2 separate regions of the Homo sapiens genome follow, and region 1 is linked to region 2. The links are contacts of gene promoters, found by promoter capture Hi-C in blood cells and fetal thymus (Javierre and others, 2016). All regions are on one chromosome and are shown on one strand. Each heading gives the region's core, a stretch centred on a gene start or on the middle of the fragment in contact. The rest is flanking DNA. Distances are from core to core; before and after follow the strand shown. Region 1 overlaps SHC4 (SHC adaptor protein 4). Region 2 holds the start of SHC4 (SHC adaptor protein 4).

Region 1 (4,888 bases), core at 58-2,557, 100 kb before region 2:
CGTGAAAAGATTCAGATCTGAGTTCAAGTTCCAATTATGCCACTACTTATGTGACCTTGAACAAGTCACTTTATGGCAAGGTCCTTGTCTGCCAAGACAATGTCCTGAGTCATCTTTGAAGTCTTTTTGTTTTACAGAAACCCTATTCTTCCTCTGTCATGGAAGCTCAAAGTCTCTGAGGAACAGGGCGGCATGTGGGTACACAGAAATGAATGAATCAATCAGACACATCAACCAGCCTCTAACGCTTCTGGCGTACCTCTAGAATGTCTTATTTATCTCAACTTTTCTGATTCTGATGCTTTGAGGTTTGGGTCCTGTTCATAGGCTGATGCTATCAACATAATTTTCTGCTTTTCTTTGGATTAGCCTATTACTACCATATTACTTTATTTATTATAGAGACAGGTGTCTCACTACGTTGCTCAGACTGGACTTGAACTCCTGGGCTCAAGTGATCCTCCTGCTTCAGCCTCCCAAGTAGCTGGGACTACAGGCATGCCCCAACACACCCAGCTTGAGAAGACTGGACAAAAATAAAAGAACAAACAGTGGTGTCTGTCTGTCTCCAGGCAAGATGCAACAGCAGACAAACAGACTGACCTCATGCAGATGTTCTGCCCAGTCTCACCACCTTCAGGGAGCACATGTACTTTCACAGTTCCATTGTTGCCTCTCATAGACATGCTATGTTGCTCTATGGAAATGGTCTTTTTTAGGTTGGTCATGGGACAGGATAGAGGTGGGCCTTGAATCACATATAAATATGCCCATTTCCCAGGATTAAAACCAATTCCAAAAGCTTGGCCAAGAATTGCCCAATTTTCAGCTAAAGGGAAAGAAGAAAGACAAGTAACTATATATAAAAAGAGCCAAGTCACAAAAAAGAGGGTGCCTTTTCAGGGATATGGTAACTTTGTTACCAAGGCCTGAGCTTTGCTTCCCATGTCTGGAATCAGATGAAAGTCTGGATTTTTTTCATCCCACCTGTAGCAGGATGGGCTCACACTTCCAGCCCTGGGTATCAAGTACTAAACTAAGATTCAAAAGAACCTGAGATACATATTCATCTGTCTTTTTTATTTGGTTATTGAATTAGGTAGTCATAAACAAGAGGATTACAACTATTACTAAAGGATAACAGACACTTCTTTACTACTTTTATATTTGTTCTTAATAAACAGTTTTTTTGTTTTGTTTCTGTCTTTTCCTTTTATACTTAGAAAACCAGAAATTCAAAAGTTCAGCTTTTCAGGTCAACCACCAGATGGTGCTATGGGATCAAAGCAGGGAGTCCTCCATACTTTAGGAAGAAACAACCTCAAAGAGGCAAGCCAGTATTCAGTTCATAGCTAATTAATACCACCAGGACAGTCGTAGGCATACTTTATAACTATAAACATAAATAAAAATAAGTGGATTAATTTAAGTTGGTTTTACTGGTTTTGGGGTTTTTTTTTTTTTAACTTTCTTCAGAGACCCAGAAGCATGGCCTTCCTATATCCAGGTAGTCCAAGCAGTCCAGTCCTATTCACAGACTAGATTCAGGGAAAATATTAAAACATTCCTGGACTGCCACACATTTGGAGTAAGACAATGTGGATTTCCTCATTTACAGCAATTACAGAAGCAGGGTGTATTAATCACTAACTAAACTCAAAACATTCTTACTGGAACTTAACCTTTTCTATAAAAAAGGCCTTTGATAAAATGAAGAGTTCACTAAAGGGTCCTAGCCAAGATGGAAAAAGTGGGAACTGCCCTGATTTAAATGCACTAATGCTAAAAGCGAATCAAGCAAAAGGAAGAGTGGGAAGCTTCGGGATTGTCAGCATGAAGCCCAGTCTCCTCTGCTCATCTCCACTTCCTGTCAACCATACTGTCCTCCTCATCCCTGCAATCTGGCTCCTGCCTTTCTAGGTGTACAAAAATTGAGCTTTCCAGAGTGACCAGTGGCCTGTTAATTGCTGGGCGAAATAGCATCTTCCCACCCTCATGCCCCTTAACTCCTTTTCAGTGTGTGACCATCTGAGATGTCTCCTTCAGAAGAACCTTGCTCTTCCCCTCTGTTAGGTAATACTCATTTCTTGACTTCCTCCTGTCCCCTGACTACTCCTTAGGCAAGTCACTGTCTCCTGTGGCTTCCCCCACTCCCTGACATCCTTAGCCCTCTTCTTTCTAGGTTCTGCTAAGAAGTTGCAGTTTTTTTCTGCACCTGCAGGCCTGGCCTGCCTCCCTCCCCTCCCTGCCAGCCCCACCCCCAGCCCCAGACCTACTCTCTGGGCTTCTCTTGTCTGCCATTTTCTCCTGGATGAAACAAACTTGCTAGTTAATTTTATAACATCAGCTTTCTGATTTCATTATTTTAAAACATTTATTCAAAGGTTTTGGATATTTTTTCTTTTTATAAATGTAATAAATATTCACTGTAAGAGTTTTAGAAAACAAAAAGGCACCAAGAAGAAATAAAAATTACAGAAAATTTCACTATCCAGTGGTTATCTCAATAACCACTAGGAACATTTTGCCATATGTCTTTCCTATCTTCTTATAATGCGTATCTACCCAGAAAAGTCACCTGGGATTATACTATACACAATCTTCATAATGTTTTTTGCATTAACAGCATTGTGAATATTTTTCCCATATAATTACTTATTTTTCTACTATTAGCTTTAATTGCTGCATCATAGTACATTCTATGAGTTTATTTAATTTGCTACTTATGAATACTAAATTTTGTCTTATGATATAAATAATATACAAAAATGATCTATATTGCTTAATCTTTGTACGTATCCTAATTATTTCCTCAGAAATAAAACTACTGGTTCAAAGGCATTTACATTTTTAAGATGTTTGATGCAAATGATCAAATTGCTCTTTAAAATGTTTGAATCTAAACTCTTTATCAGCAGTGTTCAAGAATAACTACTACTCGAAACCACATTTTATCTTTTTTCAATGTTTGAAATTTGGAGATGAAATATGATGTCTAATTATAATTTGTGTGTCTGATTGCTAGTGAGGCTAAACTTTTTTATTTTTCAAATGTTTCTTGGTGCCTTGCCATGTTCTTTTGTGTGCTCAGGACGTAGAATCTGTCCATCCACTTAATGGCTGGGTAATCTTACGAAAACCGCCTTATTTTTCTCACCTCCAGTGTTTTCTTCTATTTAAAAAAAGGAATGATATGTTTACATACTCCCTAGGGCTGCTGTGAGGATGAAATGAGATAATGCAGATGGAGTACTGAAAATGCCTGGCACATAGTAAGCATGCAATAAATGGTAGCCATTTTTCTTTGCCTATTTTTTTTATTAGATTGTTTGTTTATTCTATTTATGAGAATTTCTGTTTCTTTAGTGGCAACATCACTCCACATCACACAGAATAGTAATAATAGCTACCATTTACTGCCTAGGTGCTATAAGCCAGGTATTGAAATGTTTGCATTGCATATGATATCTCATTAAATCCTCAGGAACATCTGATTCCTATTTCTCCATCAATCTAAATATCTAAATAGTCATCAAGTACTATTAGTTCACAAATTTGACCCAAACTCTTCCTTCCTCCTCCAGTGCCATTTAGAACATTACACTGCTGCCCACGACTAATGAGATGTCCTCTAAATTGAATTCTATCATTCCAGGTGGCTTTTCTGCTTTCCAATACCAATACCACTTTCTTTTTTTTTTTTTTTTTTTTTTTTTTTTTGAGACAGAGTCTTGCTCTGTCGCCCAGGCTGGAGTGCAGTGGCGTGATCTTGGCTCACTGCAAGCTCCGCCTCCCGGGTTCACACCATTCTCCTGCCTCAGCCTCCCGAGTAGCTGGGACTACAGGTGCCCACCACCACACCCAGCTAATTTTTTGTATTTTTAGTAGAGACGGGGTTTCACCGTGTTAGCCAGGATGGTCTCCATCTCCTGACCTCATGATCTGCCCGCCTCGGCCTCCCACAGTGCTGGGATTACAGGCGTGAGCCACCGCGCCCGGCCTCCAATACCACTTTTAAAGACACAACTGCCAGAAAAATGATCATTTAGTAATTTCAGAATAGCAAAACATAATAATATTTTTAAAGCTCAAAATATTTGATGGCTCCAGTGACCTCCTGGCCAGTATTCAAAGTCCCCCCACAATCTGTCTCTGGTCTATCTTTTCAGCTGTGGGACCCCTACTTCCACTTTTTCCTTTCTCTGCAACCCCGCCTTTACACGCACATTCGCACAACCTGCAAACACTTGGCTGTAAGCTCTCATTACACTGCTCTTTCACCTGTGTCTTTTTTTACTTACTCCACAAATCCCAAGCATCTACTGCGTTTTAGGCACTGTTCTCTAGGCATCCCTCTTTCTCTATGCACATCTTATGGATTATGTTTCTCCCTCTTGCTAAATGATAATACCATGGTGGGATTTTCCTTCCATAATCATTAATAATTATTTGTGTATTCAAAAGCTGTGTCATCACCTCTTTGCGGGCACTGTCAGTCCAAGGGCTCAGGTCGGGGGAAAAGATTTAGCACTAGAGGACTGTGTGCAAGGAGGAGGTATGTTGAGAACACAGTGTCTTCTCACAGGATTTTTATAGCCAAGCTATATGAGAAAGAACGAGGAGATCAGAAAAGGAGGAAGAGGTGATAGAGACATATTAACTTTTAAAGCCAAGAAAACTACCCTATGTTACTAAGTTATCTTCTTGGACACACCCATTTTCCTATAGGAAAGAAAGATGTAATAAGGGAGGAAAGAAAACTATGCTTTCCATGTGTTATGCAGATGTTATTATTCCCACTTAAAAGATAAGGAAATCAAGGTTTGAGGTTGTGAAACAATCTGCCTGACATCGTACAGTGAGATGATGAAATAATTATGATTCCAAC
Region 2 (4,677 bases), core at 406-2,905:
GTTGTAGGGACATATATAAACCCAGCTCCCCTCCGCCTTGGTCCAGTTGAATCATGTCCTGTCCAAACACAGAACCCAGGCAGGTAACATTAGACCCCTTGCAGAAAGCAGAGAAGATGCCCCCTTCCACGGAAGTTCTTAGAGGGCAGAGAGGAAAATGGACTTACCCTCACACAGTAGTTCATGCCCATCCCCAACAGGTGCTGTAGAAAGTGCCTGTCCTGCCTGCTCCTAAGTGTTGGCTCCCCAGGGCCAGGAAGCGGGCACGAATCAGGGGTTAGGGCGGTTGCCCTGTGTCCCACCAGGTCCTGCTGCGGTGGAGGTGCAGTCCCGGACCTACTTAAACTGGTTTCTGGGGAAGAGGGGCCGCTGGAACCTGGGTCCCGGCTTTCCTGGAGCTTCAGCCGAGGCACCTCTTTGGTACCCAGGCAAAAGTTTTTCAGACTCAGCAAAGTGGCCGGGTTGGCCAGCTTCATGCTTGCCATGCGGGGGATCAAGGTGCACAGTGGGGTGGGGCTCTCCTGCGACGGCAAGGTGGCATCTTCAGTCGGCAGGTGAGGTGCCAGGGCGGGGTGGGGAGGCTGCGGCGAGCCCTTGTTCCCGACCGAGCCTCCGGAGCTACCTTCGTCCAAGGACGTGATCGACTCGTTCCGAAAGCGGCTGTACTTGGCCCTGTGCAGCATCCCGGGGTGCCCGAAGAGTCCTACATACAGCACGAGTCCTGCCAGGCTGTCCTGGCCGCGTTCTCGCATAGCCTTGGCAGTGCTGAAACAGGATACTGTTGCATAAATCGCCTCGTCGTCTGGTAGATAAACGGTGCAGACATCAGATACCTCAACGCCCGATGCAACTCACAGCAGCCACCTCTCCAACTCTGCTCTCGAGCTCGCCCACCTCGGCTCCCGGCCCCTTAAGGGTGACAGCCCATGGGGGAAACGCCTCCCCTGCTCTGATTTCAGTCTCTCCCTGGCCCAGGCAGAGGCACCAGTGTTCTCGCCTTGGAATCCTTGTCGGGAGAGCCTAGACCCAGGCTCCCGGCGGCGCGGGTCGCTCACGGCCAACTCTTAGGCGCAGAACCCGGGCGAGCGCCGGTCGGGGGGCCCGCTGCATCACTAGCCTTGCAGGAGCCTAGTAGAAATATTTAGCACCCGACTCCCACCCTCACCCCAGCCTTCTGTTCTGCACACAGGAACTTTCGAACCTGCTCCCTTCGGCTCTCACAGGGCGGGGCAAATGACTGGCCTATTAACCCTTTATTTGTTCCAGTGATTGTTCATTTAAAAAGGAAAAAAAAATGTATCTATGAACCAAAGGCCCTTTTGCCTGGGTTCGTTGATTCCAAAGGCTGCCCTCTCTTGGAAGATCTTGTCTTGCATCCCGTTCTGGGCCACCAGCCAGGAGTACTACTGACGGGCGCTGCTCCGCATTGTTTCACTGACTTGTGATGGGTCCGTGTTCCTCAGATCCCCTCCCAGCCTGCCTACCCTCGCTCAGAGCTTCCCTCCCTCCTGGATTCCTCTCGGAGCTTTTTTCAGAAGCCCATTTGCAGCCGAAAGCTGAGATGTGCAGGATGATACGCAGCGTGTTGAAATTTTTATGAATGAACTTTGCCGAATGAATTTCTCTGTGTGTGTGCAAGCTAATAAATCTGTGAATGAAGCTGAGAATAGCTGTAATTGACTGACGGTCTCAGAGGTGCTTGGTTTTTATCCAATCAGGAGGCAGCTTGATGACTCATACACCATAAATATACTAAACTAGTAGCCGAGAGAAATAAAGCTAGCGGGAGAGGAGGGACGTATTTTATTTTGTGGTATCTGATGAATGAGTTAAAAGGAAAGGCAATCTTTACTACAGATCATTAGCCGGGGAGCAGCAGGTTAAAAGATCTATTTTCTTTCTTGTTGAGATGGCCGGGAGGGCAGAGCAGAAGAGCTAAAAATTAGACCCATTGTTACAGGGATATTAGGACATATGGTTCACAACTCCTGTGGGAAGCCATGATGCATTTTTCTTAGAAACATAGTTCTTTTTTTATTGATTGTTGGTTCCATCTTCCGTCTGGTGCGACTTCCTGTACCTATCAAATGCATCCTGAAGACATGATGACAACTGCAAAGGCTTAGCACACAGGAAGCCAAAACCAGAGCTGGGAAAAGGAAATGCAGGTTCTTCAGGAATGGAGAAGAGGAAACTGCTGAAACACTGGGGGTGTGGGGTGTCGGGGTGGGGTGGAAATCACACATAGGAAGAGATAAAGAACTCTCAGAAAAGATTGCATTACTCCGTGTCTCAAGGCTTTGACATCTGAAATTGTTCATTAATTAAAAAATTAAGACAAACTGGCAACCAAAGGAATTAAGGGTGCCACCTTCATTATCTTATTGTCCCTAATGCTGGATTAGGCTTATGTATATTCATGACTTTGGGAGCCTGAGCTCCCTTGGGATCCAAACACAGGTTCTGAATTAAATGGTTGAGAGTGACCAGTGAAAGCGGCATCCTCCTCCCAAGCTCCCTGGTCCCCCAGGGAAATAAAGCACCCATCACATCCTGTCTGCCAAGCCTGTTCAGACATTTCTTTCCCTGGAAAGGCCTTTCTGCATCTTCATAAATCTTCCCTTCAATCCTTGTTGACCTCCTTTTCCCTGCCCTACATCTCCTCCTGGCAAAACTGAGGGAAGTAGCTAAATCAGTTGGACCCCACATCCCTGGGGCTGAGGAGACAGGCTCTGGGCAAGAATATTTACCTCTCATTCCTCCTCATTCCTCATCTGCTTTCTTCCTCTCATTTTTCCTGCCTTCCCCTGGGTCCCTGGGTCCCTGTGTTGCTTCTGTTATGCTATGATGACCTCATTATATGCTCCCTTTAGAAAGTTACTTTACCTCTCCGTGCCTGAATGTCCTCATATGTTGGCAGCAGCCATCTAATGGGGTTGTTATGAGGGCTTACGAGGCCCAATGCTCCATACAGTGCCCATCTCACTAAGTACATGTGGGCAGTATGAAAAAATGGCCATTGGAACCAGAGCTACCTCCCCTTGAAGCTCATATTCTTAACCCTCACACTGCAGAGTTTACATCATTCTAGGCAACTAAAAAGAAAAATTAGTACAAAGTGGGAGAAGCTAAGAAACTCAACATTGTCCAAAGAAAACAATTTTTTAAATCAGGTGGGCCTGGAGAAGGCTGGAAAGGACATGGGCCTGCCTGGCTGATAGGAATCCTTACAGAGGTCTCATGACTGCAGGATGGGGTGTCCAGGGGAGCCAGCTCATCTAGGTAGGCACCATGCTGGCCAGACTCCAGGAGCCCAGACCAGCCTACATGCCTCAGAAAGTGCGAGTCCTGGGAGGGTTGGGGGTTGCGAAGTGGGACTAAGTAAGGTAAGAAAGCAGTCATGGCCATTGTGGGCTCCTTCTCTTCCCAAAGCCTAGAGACCTTGGCTGTCCTGGGTAGCTCTGCTACAGCGTTTTACGAGGGTGAAAGAGACCAGATCTGCAACTGGAAGTGGGGAATAGCCTCTAGGCTGAGCCTGCCCAGCTGGACCACTCTCTCAGTCCTAACAGCCCAAGAGAAGGCTCGTTGATTGAATTGCTTTTCATTCTAGGTAGATGGGTGGGTAAAGCAGATGGTTTGCTTTTTCCAGGGCATTAGAACATCCTCTTCAATTAGTCATGATTAAAATAATATTAATAAGAGCTACTATTTGTGGAACACCTGACAGTTTACCTACATTCTGGTTCAATTATTATAACAAATTGTGGATGCTTGGATTATGTTCCTCACTGCCTTACAGATATGAAAATGAGGCTGAGAGAAAGGGCAGTGACTTGTTCAAGGTGCTCCAGCTGTTGAGCAATGATCTTGGGATCCCTCTGGGCCTGATTGCAAAGCCTCTGCTGGCAGCCACTGTACTCTGCTGCCTCCCAGGGGACCAGAGAGCTCAAGTCTAGTTTCCAGGCCTATGATGGCTACAGGGCATCTTACTGCTTCCTAAAGCTCTGAGAAATGACTGGACAGGAAGATGAGCTGGGGATTTTTGGAGGTTCTAGGGTTGTTGGGAAGCCTACCCCTGAGCTGGCCCTCACAGATCAATGAGATCAGGGCTGGCAGAATATTTTCCTATCTATGGTTTTCCTGTATCTACCCCTCCAAAACCCCCAGGGAAAGTGTATTTAGCCCAAAGATCATTTATCAGAAGATAATACTAGACTAGATATCTCAGGAAACCTTTGTAACTGGGCCACTACCTACAAGCAGTATGCACTCAGCAGCAAAATGTAATTGGATGAACATTAATCTGGGAATTCCAGAACCAGCTGTGGGATTTTGAGTAAGTTATTTAACCTCTCTGAGACTTAGGTTTTGTATATGTAAAATGTGCACAATAATAATAACATCTGCTGAGCACTAACTCTAGATCAGGTCCTGAACTAAGTGTTTCACATTTAAGCCCCCCAGCAAGCCTATGCAGCAGGTGCTATCTGACATTTACTGACTTGCCCAAGTCACATAACCAGGAAGTGGTAGTTGTGGTGTAGAATCGAGCACTGACTCACTCCAAACTATGCCCTTAACCACTGTGATATGATCCAGTGTATATGAACCTAACTCCTACTGCATGCTCGATAAATGTTAGTTCTTGCTCCTTTCTCCTCCTTGGAAAGCATACCT

The links. Contacts are between HindIII fragments. The CHiCAGO score rates a contact against its expected background, and 5 or more counts as called.
Region 1: a contact is called between a fragment that was not itself captured here and the fragment with the promoter of SHC4 in region 2, in 1 of 17 cell types (megakaryocytes). The highest score is 6.0, in megakaryocytes.

What each region holds. Positions count from the first base shown.
Region 1 is chr15:48,860,746-48,865,633 of GRCh38, forward strand. All of the region lies in intron 6 of SHC4 (SHC adaptor protein 4), which reads right to left. Among named protein-coding and RNA genes, the nearest start is that of EID1, 15 kb to the right of the region's middle. The HindIII fragment of the contact is 1,015 bases long and covers 801-1,815 here.
Region 2 is chr15:48,962,264-48,966,940 of GRCh38, forward strand. It overlaps SHC4 (SHC adaptor protein 4), which reads right to left and starts at 1,656. Exons shown (of 12, transcript NM_203349.4): 1 at 168-1,656. The coding sequence starts at 752. RefSeq lists enhancers at 130-632, 633-1,134. The HindIII fragment of the contact is 13,438 bases long and covers 1-4,677 here.